Regions from separate parts of the Homo sapiens genome. Here region 1 is linked to region 2. The links are contacts of gene promoters, found by promoter capture Hi-C in human tissues and cell types (Jung and others, 2019). All regions are on one chromosome and are shown on one strand. Each heading gives the region's core, a stretch centred on a gene start or on the middle of the fragment in contact. The rest is flanking DNA. Distances are from core to core; before and after follow the strand shown.

Region 1 (6,481 bases), core at 3,226-5,725, 51 kb before region 2:
GTGGTGCTCTCTATGACTGGGTTCCCTTGGAGTTTTTAATTCTCAGACTTGGCCACACTGAGCATCCAACAATTCATTAATCACAGTTCAGATCTTCCTACTTCAACAGTAGTTCCTATGGCAGCTTCCACTCGTGAGTCTCTGTTCCAGTAATCCATGACTCCTTGTATTTGTCTGTCTCTCCAATCTTGGGGGCAGAGGTTTGCCCTATGTCCTCCCCTCTCTTGTGGATCCCAGAAGAGCTGTTGATTTTTCAGTCTGTTCAGCTTTGTACTTATTTTTAGGACATATTGGTGACTTCTAAGCTCCTTCCATGTGGAACTGGAAACCGGAAGTCAGATTTACCTACCCAGACTTTTCAAGGACACTGACTCTAAGCTCATTCTACTCCTTGGGGACCCAAAATGTCACTATATGTTTTAGCTATCTGAGTGGAGGCTTTATGGGGATTAAGTTACAAAAGGAAATTAGATCCAGTGAATGCACAAGACTATCTGTGGTTATATCCTCAGTTTTCTGAATGCATAGTTTGAGTAGATATACTTCAAAACTAGCAGAATCCACACTGTTTTTCTGACTTCTGCAAAGATACGGGGGTAGAAATTCCATCACATTCTCAGTATACTCGCATATTTGTTTTATGAAAAGATGTATGTATTTGAGAGGTTAACAGTAGATTATAAACTTAATCAGATGATAACTGCTAATGTGCAGGTTTCCAGATATATCCTCATTTACCAGAAGAAAATCAATGTAGCTCCTGGTACCTCATAGGCAGCTACAGAACTAGGTAATGATTTATCTCTACCTCAATAAACAGAAACCATCAGAAGTAGTTTTCTGTCATCTAGCAGAGATGCCATTAAAGCCTCACTGTCTTATTTCAGGGATATCAACCTCTTTGGCTGTCATACTCCCATAGGATATCATTTTGATGACATAAGGCTGAATGTATTTAGTGGGCAAGAACTGACGGTATCTTAGCTGCCTTGATAAGTCACATGCATGTCAAAGTATGGGAGAATCCATGAAAATTCAGAGACCAGTCACCTCAATGAAGTTTCTAAGGGCCCCAAAGACTGTGCATTTCAGAGAAATCCTTGCCGTGTAAAAGAGAAATTTTGTACCTTGCACTCTTTGTAACTAAAAAGAGGCAGAAGTCTGCTAAGCTGCTTTGGTGGCAACATAGAGGACATGTGTATGTGCTGCTCTAAGCAAAGCATCTGGTATAGTGTCACATATGAGTCAGGCTCAGATTAAGGGAAGACTCTGCAACTTCTCCAAACTGATGCCACGTGGGGCTCTGTTTCAGCAGATCTAAAGGTACTTAAAGTGTGTACAGCAGATTCAAATGCTGTAGAGTACCTCTGGTACACTCCAATACAGGCCTCCAGTGCTTTGGAGTAGGGCTATGTCTTCTTCACACATTAGCTAATCTCCTTTGGAAAAAATGCTCTTGGTTTACTTTTACCTCAGTTTACCTTGGTTTATTTTTACCTACCTTTTACTTTTAGAGACTTAAATTTTGACCAAAGAACATCAAGTGATCATCAGACCTAAAGTGGGTGTTATCTAATGTACCAAATAATAAAGTTGAACAAGTGCAATCATACTCCATTATCAAAAGAAGCAGTCTATAAGAGATAAGCCTCAAGCAGGTTGTGAATAAGCAGGTAGATTGTATGAACAGATGGTTCATATTCCCAGTGCATCTACTCTTTTTCTTTCCCATTTCTCCCTCAAATTATACCCATGGACTCTGGGGGAGTTCCCTATCACCAGCTGACTGAGGAAGAAAACATTCAAATTTGGTTTAGAGATGGTTCCTCATGTTGGCACCACCTGGAAGTGAAAAGCTGAATAATATCCCCACAAAGGGATGGCCTTGACAAAGAAAGAAATCTTCACAGTGAGTCAAATTTCCAGTAATATATCTATCTAATTTTCCACTTTATGGTAAAGGAAAAATGGTAAGAAACATTGAACTACACCAAATTATGTGTAGCAACTAACTGTTGGCCTGGATGATAAGGTACTTGAAAAAAATAAAACTGGAGGATTGGTGACAAGGAGTTCTGGAGAAAAGGTGATGGATGGACCTCTCATAATGGATAGAGAGCATGAGACTATATTCATCCCATTTGAATAAAAACCAAAGGGCATATCCCACAAAAAGGCTCTTTCTAATCAGAGGGCGGCTAAGAGAACTCTATAGGAAGTGGGTATATATCAGAAATGGAGGTTATGAATAGGCTAAACAGCATAGGCTTCCCATCGCCAAGGCTTATATGCCTATCATCACTGCTGAGTCCTCAGTTGGCCAACACCCTGGATCAACACTGAGCTTTCATCATAACACGATAGGCCAGGGACACCAGCCATCCACCAAGTAACAGGTTGAGGATTAATTCCTTTTACTAGGGGTGGTTAGCAGCAATCTGTCTACACTATGATTAGCACCCAGTTACCCTAGATATGGATTTACCATCTCTGCCCATATCGTTCTGCCAGTACCACCATCTGTGGACTTACTCACTATCATGATATTCCACACAATATTGCCCACCAAGTGAGACAACAGACTCACCCCACAGAATTCATCAATCTTACTGTGTATCCCATCAGCCCAGACATGTTTCGGTTGTTCCACCTACCGAGTAAGTTAATAACACCATCATTGTAGCAAGCAAAAAGTTTGATAAGATCTTTGAAAAGAAGCATAAATGCTGCATTTATGACACCATTTGTTAGTTCATTTGGATGCACCTAGAAAAACAGAAAAATTTAATATTAGCGGCATATCATTAAGTCTTAATTTTTCTTGAATCACATTAAAATGTCTCAAATGACTACTAAGAAATTCATGAATATTCTACAAACATTGGTAATTCATTTAGTAACCCTACCAATATCAAAAGATGGACTACATATGTTTTTGCTTCAATTTAAGTCAATGAGGTTAGTCTTATCGATTAAAAGACAGATATATGCATTATATATATATGTGTTTATATAGATTAATCCATAGATTATTCAAATTTAACTTTTGAAAATCTGGTGTTTTGTTACTTTTACTGTTATGTTACATTTCTTCCACTTCTCCTATCTAATAGTTTCTGTGAAAGGATTCAGGCTCCAGGGGCCTGCAATGACTCAGTGTGGAAGAACAGCATGGGGAATACCTTAGTCAGCTACCTCTAAAATAACTCTAGAGACTCATAACTGTTCACCTATTCCAAACTACTCTAATCATCAACACAAAGGCACATAATTTCTCCCCACTCCTCAATCCTTTTCTTTTTCCCTTTATGACTTTCTCTTTTAAGACAGAACCCTTACTAAGGTCAAGGAAAGTAAAGAAAAATAAACGAATTAAAAAGAAAATAAAAGCTAAAAGGCAATTCGACAGATACTTAGTGAAGTCCTTATCATAAAATCTGTTAAAAAATAAGATGGTTTGCTGCTTTTATGAAATTTCACAGGAGTTAGGTGTTGTGATTAGCACCTAATTATAGACTAAACCATACAATCTTAACAGAGATGCTAAGTTACTAAAATTTGAGGAAAATCTTTGTTGTAGGCAACTACCAAAATACAAAAAGGCTGAACAATATGAGTTAATAATGTCTCTACATGTCAAAATATTTTACTTTCATGAATCAGATTTCAGATTTTTTTTTTTTTTGAGACAGAGTCTCACTCTGTCGTCTAGACTGGAGTGCAGTGGCATGATCTCAGCTCACTGCTACCTCTGCCTCCCAGGTTCAAGCGATCCTCCCACCTCAGCCTCCCAAGTAGCTAGGATTACAGGCATGCACCACCACACCTTGCTTTTTTTTTTTTTTTTTTTTGGTATTTTTAGTAGAGACAGAGTTTCACCATGTTGGCCATGCTGGTCTCAAACTCCTGACCTTGTCAAGTGATCTGCCTGCTTTGGCCTCCCAAAGTTTGGGATTACAGGCGTGAGCCATGCCCAGCCTCAAGATTCTTCAAAATTAATTTTTTTATTTTAAGATAACTCTAAATTTACATGCAGGTGTAAGAAGGAATACAGAAAGCTCCCATATACCATTTACCCAGTTTATCCTAATGGTAACATCCTATAAAACTATAGTACAATATCACAACCAGGATATTGACAATGAAACAATTCACTAATTTATCTAAGATTAAACACAATTCTTTGGTGGATAGTGTCATTTAAGCAATCTGCATAAAATGGTTTCTAGGCCAGGCGTGGTGGCTCATGCCTGTAATCCCAGAATTTTGGGAGGCCGAGGTAGGCAGATCATGAGGTAAGGAGATCGAGACCATCCTGGCTAGCATGGTGAGATGCCATCTCTACTGAAAATGCAGAAAATTGGCCGGGCATGGTGGCGGGCGCCTGCAGTCCCAGCTGCTCAGGAGGCTGAGGTAGGAGAATGGCGTGAACCCAGGAGGCAGAGCTTGTGAGCGGAGATCGCGCCACTGCACTCCAGCCTGGGTGACAGAGTGAGACTCCGTCTCAAAAAAATAAATAAATAAAACAAAATAAAATAAAATAAAAAATAAAAAAGATTTCTAACAGCAGGTCAAGTTATTTAACTGCCTGAAGGCACATCTTGCAGATACTTCATCCTGTCAAGTACAATAGGAAGTCACTATCCTGCTCAGAACATGAAGTTCCAAGAATGTACCATTCATATTTTTCCATGACTTATGTAAACACCTGGTAAACTGCTTAGAAAAATCAGGGGAACCTAAATAATCTTTACCGAGCTTAACAGCCTGAACTAAGTATTCATCTAAATGAAGATCTATAGCTGCTTCCCGAGGAAATCTTTGGATTTACCTGTAGCCCATCTTCAAATGAAAGACAACATTGATTGTGTATGAAACATTTTCTAGTGAGATACATACATCAAATTCAAGCAGTGCATCAATTTGTCCCTGTAGTATTGGCATACTCTTTAGCAGCTTTTCGGGAGCCATTGTCCTCATTACACCATCGGCCCTACAATTAAAAAAAAAAAAAAGGTACAATTTCATTGGATATGGACAATTCAAGACCATATGAATTGTTCTAAGCTGTTCCCCCACACCACCCCATTTCCTTATTAATCCTGTGGGATCAATTTGAGGTATTACAAGGTTGTAGTCATTTCCCCCCTCTATCTATTATCTATTCTTATTCCTCCATTGCACAGGCAATGCTTGTTTGTTTTCTATGTGTACTGCCCTTAGGAAGAAAGCAATCGGGTCTGGATAAAAGAGGCAAGCTGAATTTATGAATGGATTTTTCTAAATCTATAATAAAGGTAATAGTGTTGAAAAGTATGTTTTCTTCTTTTTTTTTTTTTTTTTTTGAGACAGTCTCACTCTGTCACCCAAACTGGAGTGCAATGGCATGATCATAGCTCACTGTAATCTCAAACTCCTGGGCACAAGTGATTCTCCTGCCTCAGCCTCATGAGTAGCTGGAACTACAGGTGCATGCCACCACACCCGGTTAATTTTTAAAAAATTTGTTTTGGTAGGGATGGGAGTCTCACTATGTTGCCCAGGCTGGTCTTAAACTCCTGACCTCACAGAGTCCTCCCTCCATGATCTACCAAAGTGCTGAGACTATAGCCATGAGCCACTTTGCCCAATCAAAATATAAGCTTTCAAAAAAGCCAGTTTTTTTTTCTTTTTTTTTGAGAAAGAGAAAACATGTCTTGGAAGTTTATAAAACCTGTATGACTTGGAGTACAAGGTTTATGCTATTAACCATCAAGGGAAGAAAAATGCATGCTGATAAGAACACTTTTCCCAAACAAAGGTAAGAGTTTAGCTACAGAAGATGAGACTGAAGGTTAATGCTGATGTCGGAGGGTGCACTGCACCTTGTCTCCACCTTCAGGTCTCTTAGGAAGCCCTTGTATCCAGTGATGGTGATGGTTGAGGAGCAGCAGTATTGTAATAGCTGAAGAAAATACCCAGATGATGTGGACATGCTGATCATGGCAACTTTCAGGGTCTCTCCCAGACCAACAGTGGAGAAAGCAACCTGAAGTGTCCATATGTGTTCATACAGGGGTGCAGAAGTTTCTAGGAAGGCCATGGACCTACTGCAGAGGTCACAATGCAGCTGGGAACATCAGCAATGGTTGCATGGTGCCATGTAAGAAGTTAGAGGAAGGCATATGAACTAGAATCATCTCTCGTGAGAAGAGGGTGAAGGAAAACACCTACTTTTATAAAGTATTCATCTACAATAAATTATTTTGAATAGGCAAGTTGATGTTTTTCACCACCATGGTAAAAAAAGTAGCCCCAAACTAAGGTCAGGTTAGCCATTGCAAAAATAAAGTTACATCTTTTTGTGTGGATTCTTGAGACTAAAATATTAAAGCTGCTATAGTACCTTGCCATTATTTCAAATGAGGAACAGATATAAGATATGCACAAATGTGTGGCTGAATGCCTCTGACTAGATTTATGCATCTATTTAGAGGGAAAT
Region 2 (5,795 bases), core at 2,218-4,717:
ATCTCTACTAAAAAAAATACACAAAAATGAGCCAGGCGTGGTGGTGCATTCCTGTAAGTCCCAGCTACTCAGGAGGCTGAGGCAGGAGAATCACTCGAACCTGGGAGGCTGCAGTGGGCCGACAATGCACCACTGCACTCCAGCCTGGGTGACAGAGTGAGACTCCATCTCACAAAGAGAAAAAAAAAAAGCCATGAAAGTTAATTACCCTCCCTGAACCCATTAAGTGATGAAAGATTAATAATATAAAGTTCAGTTCGTGCTATATAGTAACTGCTCAATAAATGTTCAGCTCTTATGACCATTCATATTAATAATTCAACACCAGTTCCTATTTCAGCTGCTTTCTTTTATAACATGGAATCTTCCCCCTATTTTCCACATCTTAGAAATCATATTGGAAAACCTCCTACCTTCAAATTTTCAAAAGACTTTTCCACTAAAATACTAATGTGACTAAATATTTAGATCTGGAGAAGTCAGCCTTTATCTGAATGATGTTTTAATGAAATGTTCAAACCTGTGAATGTTCTCTGAAATATATCAGTATACTGATTTATCATTTTAATTATAGATCAGCATGTAGCAAATTCATAACCTATACCTTTCTTATTATGAGGATTTTCTAGACTGATATATACCTTTAAGACATGAATCATTCTTCCAGAGTTGGGGAAACTGATGGGAAAATGGCTAAATGATTCAGCATGCTGCAGCAAAGTGATCTGGTCACAAATTTACAATTTCTACTTCTCTTAGGTGCCCTGGCCCTGGTGGCCTCTTTCATCCTGTACTGCATATATAACATATAATGCTGTAATCAATAAATTTAGTTAAACATTCCCTTGGGAAAGGCATAATGGTACTTTCCCCTCCGATGAGCTTCTAGAAACAAAATTATTCAATTCTATGAGACAACAGGTTCACAAGGCTGGACAACTCTTACAATGTCCAGTTGTAAGCTTCATCAAGCTTCGCTTATGCAGATAATAGGGCTAGAGTGAATTCTGACACTGGTGCCATTTTCTTAGCTGCACAAAGGAAATAGCAGGAAAAAGACCCAAGACCAAAAAAACCCAGAAGATGGGCAAAGGAAGCCAGCTGAGGAAATGGCTGTGGCCATACCTGTGTCTCTCATGCCAACATTCACCTTTACCAAAAACATCACAATAGAACAGAAGATCCTAAGCAGGTCAAGAGAACTAAATAGCAACTGCTGAACATACACTCATATAGCCTGACTTATGAGAAACCTCACCACCCAAAGCAGGTGAAAGCCTTTTTCTTTTCTAAGTGCCTCTGTTTATCCTTCGGTGACAAAAGATTTACTGTTAATTAAGGTATTTCAGAAATATATAGATTCCAGAGTAGAATAAAGCCTTTTCCATCAAATAACCAGTTACAAAAATAATATTAAGAATTAAACGGTTTCATCTAAAATTGCACCATCTCAGATGCTGGGGAAGTACATCCATTTTGTGACCATAGCATAGTCATCTCACCCAGCATTTTCTGAGAATGGGACAAAGTGTGCCAGGATGTGTAAAATGAAATTGCCATAGCTATGAAGTCCAATTTCCTCATTCAGTACCTTGAATTTATTTCAGTTTGGTATGGTAACATACCTCACACACACACACACACACCCATACTCACAAAAACAATCCTCAGGAGCAACACTTAAAAAGATTATACTACCTTAGAACTATCTGAAATGTATTTAGGAAAGAACTAGGGTGACAAGTTTGACCTTCCATAAATTCATCTTTTTTTTTTTTGACTGTGCAACCTCTAATTTCCTCTAATTTGGAGAAGGGAGGGTGGGTGGAGAAAGAAAAAAAGGTGAAAAACATCTAATTCAGTGTGTACAATCTCTCTCTTGTGTGTGTGTATATACATATGCGTGTGTGTGTGTGTGTGTGTGTGTATTTTTCCCCCTCCACCAAGACCTTGGAGGTCAATAAGAGGAAAAAATGGCTCACAAGACAAGGTTTCATGGCTAACCCAAGGGAACACCTTCACAGCTGAAGAATTTCAGCTCAGGGGCAACCTGGCTGGGAGTATCAGAGGCCACAGCATTATGGACCAAGAGCGCAGGCCGCACCACCAGCATCCCAGGCGCCTCTGCCGTGCGCATGTCCCTCTTATATAAAGAGATGCTTACAGTCCAGGTGCTTTTTCTTGGGGCCCATTACTTCATGAGTAGTGGCTTTGCAGACCGCTCTTGCTACAGCAGAGCCTGTAACGCTGTACTGAGCGGCGGCGATCCGATCCGTGAGCGTTTGGCCCGACATCTTCTGTGGTCGCGTCTACCGCCTCCTCTTCTGCAGGAAACAAGGGGAGACGGTCCGGCTTTAATCCGCAGACCCTACCCTCCAAGCACCCAGGCCTTGCCTCCTCCAGCCGCGCGGCGGCTCTCTCCTCCTCCATCCCCACCCTGGCACCACCTCTCGGAGCCAGCAACGCGCCAAGCCCCGCTCCTGCGATGCGGTCCAGGGAGTCTTGGCCGTGAGTAGGGCCGTCACGGAACCCCAGCGTGGGCTCCAGTCGCAGCATCGTGACACCGTCCCCATTCTCCCCCGGCCCCCACATAGGGCCAGACTCACCCCCTGGGGACCCCCCTGTCAATCAGCACTTTCCCCGCAACCTGACCCGCGGGTGCTGGACTAGCCACAACGTGCGTTGGGGTTATTCCCTGGGCGCCGCACCCACCGGTGCCCATCTCCCACCTCAGCAGACTTTCCTCCTAGCAGCCCGCAGGCTTCGGGGAATGCATCGGATACCCAAGCCCTGGCTGCCTCCCTCCTCCTCCTCGCGCTGCTGCAGCAAAGGGCTCGTCCTCCCTCAGTCGCGAAGGAGATTATCCTAGCGTTGCGCCATGTTATGCCCTCGCCTCCCCTTCCTTCCTCGCCGCCGGCTCCAAAGCCTCGCCGAGGCCCATCGCCCGGGCCCCTTCCCCCCGGTTCCAAATCCCTGCCGCAGGGGCCGCCCGGGAGCTCTGCGGAGGCGCCGGAGTCTTGGGGCGCCTCACCCTTCCTGGCTTTGGAGAGGAGCCGGGCTGACAGCGAAGCCCAGTCCCCCGCCCGCCCTGGAGCGCTCCGCGGAGCTGTCACTCGGCCGCTGCCCTTCTCCGCACCCTGGGATTATCCTCTGCGGATCCCCGCGAGACCCTGGCGCGGGGAGGGGGCCGAGTACGGCCGCGGGTACTCACCCCGCCCCTGAGCGGCGCCGCCCGCCGCAGGATGAGCGGAGCCCGGGCCGCCGAGGGAAGCCGCGCCGGTGGATGTGTGCGACCGCGCGTAGCCCCGGTGCCCCCGGGCGCAAAGTCTCCAGCCCTGGCCGGGCCCCGCTCCTCAGCTCCGCGGTCCCGGCGCCCACCGCCCCTGGCCCCTGGCCCCAGAAGCCAGTACCCGCCCGCCGCCGCCTCTTCTGCCAGCGCCGCCGCGTCTCTCTAGCGCTCCGAGCTGCGTCCCCATCCCCGCCCCCACCTCAGCTGTGGCTCCTCCGACGAGTCAGGTGACGGCGGCGGACAAACCCGGACGAGCCCTCGGCGGAGCGCCTCGCGGCCCCCTCCCAGCTACTCACACACACCGCCCCCCGGGGCCGGGAGCTTAAAGGCGAGGGGGCGCCTCGCGCAAGCATCCCCGGCAAGCCGGCGGGGAGAAGAAGGAGGCGGGGAGGCCGACACCCACCCAGCCAGCGGCTCTCCGCTGGGCGCCGGGCCGCCCCTCCGCTGCTGGCGCCGCACCCGGCACGCACTGGGCTCGCGCACCACGCACACCTGCCCGCCGACTGCGGGGGGAGCCCTGGGCGTTGGGGGCGTTGGCCAAGACGGGCGAGTGGGCTTCTCGGGTTCTACTCTGTGAAGGCCAAGGCAAGGGCGTCGTCGCGCGCTGCCTGGCGGAGCCCAGCCCCTTCCCCACACTGTCGCTGACACGCCCGCCTGTCAAAGGCTCCGAGGCCCAGATGAGCAGGGCGATTTTAAATGTCAGATCCTGCCGGCCATCCGCGACCGTCACCTGTGCGTCTTCAGCTCCTCAGGCTCCTCCGCTTGTCTCAGTTACAACTGGGAGCCCGGGTGGGCAGGTAATTCTAGCCACTTTAGTCTTAAACGGATACTGAGGTCTGCTGAAGGGAGAATAATTAACACAGCCGTTAATCGAGTCCCAGATTACCTTCGACAGTAATCATTTGCGTGCATAAAGAAAACCCTTTGTACCCTTAAGAAGTAATTTCTGCCAATTAAATATAGTGTTGGAACGTCCGTCAATTGTATGTCAAGTGTATATTCGAATAGTAAGCAGGAATTTCTAAACAGGGATGTGGAGTTGGTTAATAGCTTCACGTGTTGACATTTTCAAAGGTTGTTATTTATGTTCACCTTTTTTTTTAATTCTCACAGTAGCATGAAGATCAAAACTATATTTGTGAGCTTTCCTGGCATTTTTTCTCCTTGCTTCGGGTGGCTTCTGCTCGGCCTTGAAGCCATATATCGATACCTATCGATCTCAACGTTTTGTTATATATTCCTCTCTTTCACCTGGTACAGTGTTCAGTATGCAGTCATGATTTCCTAACTACTGAGACTGATTCTAGGACTAATTGGAAGCTTAATGACTAAAGAGAGACAGCTTAAGAGCACTATTGTCTCAAGTACTAGTCTTACCATATTTACAAGGGAAATAAAAACGCAATTCTATTAAAAAAACTTGTACTCCAGTTTTATAGCAGCTTAATATAATGGCCCCAAACTGGAGGAAAGCCAAATGTTATTCTACTAGTAAATGAATAAACAAAATATGGTATATCCACATAATGGAATACTACTTAGCAATAACAAGAAACAAACTAATACCATTCATGAATCTCAAATTCATTAGACGAAGGGAAAGAAGCTCTATCAAAAATTCTACTTATTATTTTGATTTCATTTATGTAACATTCTGGAAAAGTCAAAACTATAGAAACAGAAAACACATCAGGTGCCGAGTCAGGTGACGGTGGCATTGGGGGAGGGGACTGCAAAGGGGCAGAAGGAAACTTTTTGGAGAGATGGAAATGTTTTATATCGTGACGGTGATGATGATTATACAGCTGCATGTATTTCTCAAAACTCATCAATTTGTACACTTAAAATTGGCGAATTTTGTTGTTTGTTAATTATACCTCAATATAATCTGATAGAGTTGGGAGTGGCAATATTAATATCAAAGTAGGTTTTACAATAAGGAATATTAATAGCAATAAACAGGCACATTTCATAATGAAAAATTCATTAAGAGCATGGAACAATTCTACTTGTTTGTATATCTAAGAACAGAGCTTCAAAGTAGGACGAAGCAAAACCTAATAGCATTAAAAGGAGAAACAGGCAAATCCACAATTATACTTCAGGATTTCAGCACTTTTCTCTATGTAATAAATAGGACAAGTAGACAGGAAACCTGTAAGGGTATAGATGACTTGAAATAGCCCTGTAGGCCGGACGCGGTTGGCTCATGCTTGTAATCCCAGCACTTTGGGAGGCCGAGCCAGGCAGATCATGAGGTTAGGAGATCAAGACCATCCTGGCTAACACGGTGAAACCCCGTCTCTACTAAAAATACAAAAAAAAAAAAAAATTAGCTGGGCGTGGTGGTGGGTGCCTGTAGCCCCAGCTACTCAGGAGGCTGAGGCAGGAGAATGGCGTGAACCCGGGAGGCGGAGCTTGCAGTGAGCGGACATCGCGCCACTGCACTTCAGCTGGGGTGACAGAGCAAGACTCTGTCTCACAAAAAAAAAAAAAAAGAAAGAAA

The links. Contacts are between HindIII fragments. The study calls those that stand out against the background at their distance.
Region 1: a contact is called between a fragment that was not itself captured here and the fragment with the promoter of SNAP91 in region 2, in 1 of the 25 tissues and cell types used here (adrenal gland).

Annotation. Positions count from the first base shown.
Region 1 is chr6:83,654,100-83,660,580 of GRCh38, forward strand. SNAP91 (synaptosome associated protein 91) reads right to left here. Exons shown (of 30, transcript NM_001242792.2): 6 at 4,900-4,993; 7 at 2,655-2,766. Among named protein-coding and RNA genes, the nearest start is that of SNAP91, 52 kb to the right of the region's middle. The HindIII fragment of the contact is 4,020 bases long and covers 2,466-6,481 here.
Region 2 is chr6:83,705,634-83,711,428 of GRCh38, forward strand. SNAP91 (synaptosome associated protein 91) reads right to left here and starts at 3,468. Exons shown (of 30, transcript NM_001242792.2): 1 at 3,212-3,468; 2 at 2,165-2,324. The coding sequence starts at 2,294. LOC105377879 (a long non-coding RNA gene) reads left to right here and starts at 3,809. Exons shown (of 3, transcript NR_136251.1): 1 at 3,809-4,086. RefSeq lists silencers at 2,437-2,731, 3,141-3,350, 3,681-3,740. The HindIII fragment of the contact is 7,193 bases long and covers 1-5,795 here.